Linked DNA regions of Homo sapiens: region 1 is linked to region 2. The links are contacts of gene promoters, found by promoter capture Hi-C in blood cells and fetal thymus (Javierre and others, 2016). All regions are on one chromosome and are shown on one strand. The core of a region is centred on a gene start or on the middle of the fragment in contact, and the rest is flanking DNA. Distances in the headings are between cores, read along the strand shown.

The links. The method cuts DNA at HindIII sites, captures the fragments that hold promoters and counts their contacts. A CHiCAGO score of 5 or more calls a contact.
Region 1: a contact is called between the fragment with the promoter of NUDT8 here and the fragment with the promoter of ANKRD13D in region 2, in 8 of 17 cell types (activated CD4 T cells, total B cells, erythroblasts and 5 more). The highest score is 8.6, in activated CD4 T cells.

The regions. Positions count from the first base shown.
Region 1 is chr11:67,628,497-67,631,196 of GRCh38, forward strand. NUDT8 (nudix hydrolase 8) reads right to left here and starts at 1,441. Exons shown (of 4, transcript NM_001243750.2): 1 at 1,222-1,441; 2 at 423-555. The coding sequence starts at 1,415. RefSeq lists silencers at 1-276, 844-993, 1,284-2,073, 2,194-2,363. The HindIII fragment of the contact is 2,776 bases long and covers 156-2,700 here.
Region 2 is chr11:67,287,855-67,290,554 of GRCh38, forward strand. It overlaps ANKRD13D (ankyrin repeat domain 13D), which reads left to right and starts at 1,449. Exons shown (of 15, transcript NM_207354.3): 1 at 1,449-1,696; 2 at 2,224-2,359; 3 at 2,468-2,592. The coding sequence starts at 1,607. RefSeq lists enhancers at 355-564, 1,799-2,700 and silencers at 785-854, 1,035-1,804. The HindIII fragment of the contact is 22,420 bases long and covers 1-2,700 here.

The DNA.
Region 1 (2,700 bases), core at 191-2,690, 340 kb after region 2:
GGCCTTTGGTAGTCATGTTCGGGTCCACCTGCCTGTGTCCTCCAGCCATGCTGACTGACTCAGGTCCCCTCAAATGCACTAGACCTGTTCCCTCTGCTTAGGACAATCTCCCACTTGGCATTCAAGCCTGGGTTCAATCCCTGCCTACCCCATGAAGCTTCCCTGACCCTAATCCACCAAACTGAGTGGAGCTGGCCCACCCCATCGCCCTGGGCCACCTCTACTCAGGACACCAGAGCCTCCCCAATCCCTTCCCGAGGGGGTGTGTGGGGTGGTGCATGTGACCAGGCAGGTTAGGGGCACCCTTCCACACTTTGTGCCCGTGGGGGTCCATGACCACTCTCCTGGTCCCTGGTAGCCCAGCTCCAGGGCAGGCACAGAGTGAGTGAATGGGGTGGGGTGGCCTCAGCCAAGTGGCTTACCGGATCATACACAGGCCGCAGCAGGCCCCACACGTGCTCCTCGGGCACTGCCAGGCCCAGCTCCTCCCGGGTTTCCCGCAGGGCCGTGTGCACCACATCTTGGTCAGCCGGGTCGCACTTGCCGCCTGGGAAACTAAACAGACACAAGGAGTCTGGTCCTTGGACTCTTGGGGCCACGGAGAGGTCGGGGTATCGGCAGTGCGGGGGGGGCCACTGGCCCACCGAAGTGTCGCCTGCCTCTGCCCCTAGTTTACTGGGAGGCCCCAGGCAAGCCATGCGACCTCTGGAGGCCAGTTTACCTCCCTGAGCAATGGGGATAAGGAAGAGAGGCCCGGGACAGCGCAGGATAAGAGGGTCTGCAGCAGGGGCAAGAAGATCCTGGGGCTCAGATACCCAAATTCGGCCTATGGTGGCCCCAGCAACACTGACATTGTCCTCAGGATGTTCTTAATTCCCGCCGGGCGGGGCCCGAACCTCTCCGTAGTCGCCGGCAGGGGGCGGCGTCCGCCCTCTAAGCGGGAAACAGCTCAAAGGGGTGTCCCGGCCCAGGCGTGCGCGCAAGGACGCGTACGAGGGGCCCACGCGGCGAGGACGTGGCGCCCCGGCAGGTGCACCGGGGCCGACGGACACGGATCGCTGACCTCTCGCTGCAGCCCTTGGGCGGAGGGACTCTCCCCAGACCCATTTTACGGAGGCGGAAACCGAGGCTCGAAGGGGCTAAGTGCCCTGCCAGAGGTCCCTGCCAGCCCCGGGCTCCTGTAGCCTCCGGCAAAGGGCGAGGAGTTCCCGGCCGCTGTACCTGACGTCGCCCTTGTGCCTCCCGGTCAGGCGGCTGGACCGCAGCGTGTACAGCAGCGCCGGGACCCCACGCACTGAGCAGAGCGGCACGAGCACCGCGGCCGACGCGGGCCGCGCGCGGAGCCGGGCCGTGGCCCCTGCCAGCAGCCGGCGGCAGCGCAGCTCGCCCTCGGCCGACAGGCAGTCGGGCAGCATGTCAAGTCCTGCGCGGCCGGGACACTGAGGGCGCGGGATCGGGCGAGGGAAGAGGCGGGGCGAGGCGGGGCGGGGCGCTCAGCCCGGGTCCCTCCGAAAGCTGAGAGGGAGAAGGGGCAGCCCGCGCGACGCGTCCCGCCTGGGGGGCTGCAGAGCGGCAGCGGCGTCGGGGGGCCTCAGTGGGGTGGGTCTGTTCGTGGGCGGGGCCTTCCCGGAGACGGGGCCTCGGTGGGACTGGGTCTGTTCGGGGGCGGGGCCTGTTTGAAGGCGGGTCCTCGGTGGGACGGGGTCCGTTAGGGGGCGGGGCCTGTTTGAAGGCGGGGCCTCGGTGGGACGCGTTGAGTCCCCCGGATGGGAGGGACGGAGGGCGGCGGGGCGGGGCGGGGCGGGGCCTGCGCGGGAGCCGGACTCGGACGTTACTGCCAAAGGGCGGCGGGGCCTAGTAGGCAATCGAGGTTGGGGCGGGCTGGGGGCGGGGCCTGGACCGGAGCTTTTGCTACGAAGGACTGGGGGGCGTGGCCAGGAGGACTGTGCTTCCGGCAGGGCCGGGCCGTGGCCGGGGGTGTGGCCGCGGGGAGGGAGATGGGCGCGGAGCTGCAGGACCTGCCGGTTGTGTTCTCCGAGATCCTGAAACCACGCGAACCGTGAAGCGCCCGGCGACCGTCCTCGGTCCCGTTGGGTCCTGGCGTTGGGGTGTCTGATGAGGCCCCGCCGGCCCCCACTGGTCCGTCCCTCCCCTAGGGGCTCCAGGATGTACGGAGCCGGGATCCCACGGGGACGCCCCTCCAGGAACCCGAGGTCGATCGGTGCGCGAGAGGAGCGTCCGGCCCAGCCCTCCCTCCGGTCCTCCCTCCCGATACCGCTGGGTGGCGCGCGCCGCCCCCAGTCTTGTCTTCCCCTCTGGCTCCGTCGGACTCCAGCCCCAGGCCTTTGACCTCCTTGTCCCAGCGTCCAGAGCTCTTCTCCCTTCCTGCCTTGAGTCTTGACCGGATTCCCAAATCCCTCCCCCTTTCCTACCTCGGCCCCTGTGGTCACTGACCACCGTGGTTCTGCGCCCTTCCACCAGACCCTGGGCTTGGGGACCAGATGACCCCAGCCTTGCGCACAGCATTTAAACGTGGGGTGGCGGGTGTCCGCCATGCTCTGCTGTGTGACGTTGAGCAGGTCCCGCGCCTCTCTGAGCGCCAGTTTCGATCCTCATCTGGGCAAGTGCAGCCCTGCCACTGGGCTGGAGTCACCACTTTTAATATTACTGTGTGCTCCCAGGGATGCGGACGGCACTGGG
Region 2 (2,700 bases), core at 199-2,698:
CTGAAATGTGGACCTGGGGGTGGCATCAGGGTGACAATGGGAACGGACAGTCTCTCTCCCAGGGATGTGGGGGTCAGGGAGAGAGAGGAGGCCGTGGAAGAGGGTTGAGAAGGCACTGTCATGGAATTAAGTGCCAGTGGGGAGCTGTGTTCAAGATGGCAGAAATCAGGAGAGGCTGGAACCAAGAAAGTCCTGTCGGGGTTGAGTTTGGAGAGGGCTCAGGGAAGGGACCGCCTCTGAGAAAAGGGGTGGCCAGGGAGGGCTGCAGTAGTGGTGAGCAGGTGAGCTCTGGGCATTCAGAAGCCTTCGGGCTGCTACCAACCCCAGGACCTCACAGATTGACACCATAGCGTGGGGTGGCAAAGTGACCCCAGATGGCACAGGCGCCATGTGACTACAGGGAGAAGGCAGGGTAAAAATGGCAATCAGGCCTTCCAGCCCAGAGTCTCAGAACTGAGGACGCCCTACAGCAGGAAGTGATGCTCAAGCTAGCTGGCCCTCCTCAATCATGTTCCACGTAGGGAAAGGGAGAATAGAGGGTCAGCCTTGGCCACCTAGCAAAACCAGGGCCCCAGACCCCAGGCTGGGCCTCCAGTAATCAAGGGCCGGAACTGAGCTGACGGAGGCCTGCACCCTAGTTCCGGTGTGGGTGGAGGGGCCGGCCCTGATTTCGAAACTCGCCTTCCTCTCCTGACGCTGGCAGCCAACCGCAGCCTCTGCAAAAGGGACTCGTGCGGCGGGCGAAGGCAGCCGTTCGCCGCGGGCGGTCCTCCGCCGGGACGGCTCTGCCGCTGCCTGGGCCTGCGCCCCTCTCTCCCCGAACTCCTATCCCTGACTTCAGGGCCCCGGGGGCCGCCTCCCCGCATCGCTGGGCCTGCAGACACCGGCCAGGTCCCAGGGGAAGGTGCTTCCCGCTCAGCCGGCAAGCACTTAGTGGCGTCTGCTCGTTGCTCGTCTCCAGGCCGGGTGAGGGGAGCCGGGGCGCCCCACTTCACCCGCACACCCCAGCAGAGTCGGTGACCGCGGGACCTGGGGTAGGAAGACCGGGGCGAGCAAGGGGATCCGCGGGGGAAACGCAGGCATCACGGCTGCAGCAGGACCGCGGCCCGCCGCGCACGCGCGTGCACTACCGAGGGGCCCAGTGCCCGCCCCCTCCGGCCCCGCCTTCCTCTTCCGGACCCGGCTCCGGGGGTCTGCGCAGGGCTCGGGGCGCCTCCTGCGGGCCGCGGGCGGAGCTGTAACCGGGCACCGCCCTCCAGGCCGCCCCAGCGGACCCGGGCCCGACCGAGGTCGGGGCGCAGACCCAAGGCCGGGCATCTCCTCGGGCGCTCGCGGTTGCTCTGCCGCGCGCTGGCCTGGCCGCGGTTGCCATGGTTGCGGGGGGACGGGGGCGCGCGCGAAGCCCCGCCCCGGCCCGGCGCAGCCCCGCCCGCTCCGCCGCCCGCCCCGCCCTCCCTGCCGCCCGCGCTGCCGCCGCCGCCGCCGCCGCCGCTACTGCTGCGGGGGCCGCGGGGGGCGCAGCTGGGGCGCGGCTCGGAGGGGAGGCTAGGGGGCCGTGCCAGGCCCGAAGCCGAGGCGGGGCCGGGATGCGGCGCTGAGGCCCAGCATGGCCGGCCCGGGCCCCACCTTCCCGCTGCACCGGCTCGTCTGGGCGAACCGGCATCGCGAACTGGAGGCCGCACTGCACAGCCACCAGGTGAGGCCCCGCTGGGGCACCCGGCCCTTCCCCCGGGTCCCCCACCCAAGGCTGTGGCCTCCGTCCTGGAGCCCCCCCCCCCCCCCCGCCCGCTCAGCTCCGCAGCCACATCCTGGGCCTTCCTCCCCTGCACGATCCCAAGCCCAGGTCACCGGCCCCTCGCGCCTGAGCCTCTGGCCTCCTCTCCCCTGCGCTGGGCCTTGCCCTGCTCGCCCGAACTCGCTTCCGCATCCTTGCTGACCCAAGCTGAGAACAAGAACTCTGGTCCTGGTCCCCAGGTTCCGCCAAACTCCTGACAACCTGCAGCTCTGCCTGACCAGGCCCCGCCGCCAGACCCCGGCTCTGCCCCTGCCTTCCCTCCTGCCCCCTCCTCTCCCCTGCCAGGACACGCAGGCCACCCTCTGCCATCTCCCTGGTCAGTCCGCCGTCCTTATTTCCCACAGCGATTCCCAACCCTGCTCGCCCTGGCAGCCTCCCTGCCTTGCCCTCTTCTCTCCTGCCCTTTGTGAGTGTCCCGTCTCCCCCAGCACGACATTGAACAGGAGGACCCCCGCGGGCGGACCCCACTGGAGCTGGCCGTGTCTCTGGGAAACCTGGAGTCTGTGAGAGTGCTCCTTCGACACAATGCCAACGTGGGCAAAGAGAACCGCCAGGGCTGGGCAGGTACTGCAGAGGACAAGGGGCTCCCCCTGAGGCTGGCAGGCGGGGGGCAGTGAGCAGCCAGGCCTGGGGTCATCTGGAGGGCTCCCCTCAGCAGCCTGGTGCCCGCAGTCCTGCAGGAGGCAGTCAGCACTGGAGACCCCGAGATGGTGCAGCTGGTGCTCCAGTATCGGGACTACCAGAGGGCCACGCAGAGGCTGGCGGGCATTCCGGAACTGCTCAACAAACTTCGCCAGGTACAGCAGGGCACAGTTATGGAGGTGGGGTACCATGGCAGGGCACCACCCTGGTTACTGTGCCAGGCCTGGCCTTGGAAAGGCACCCAGTTTGTGCAGTGTGCCTCC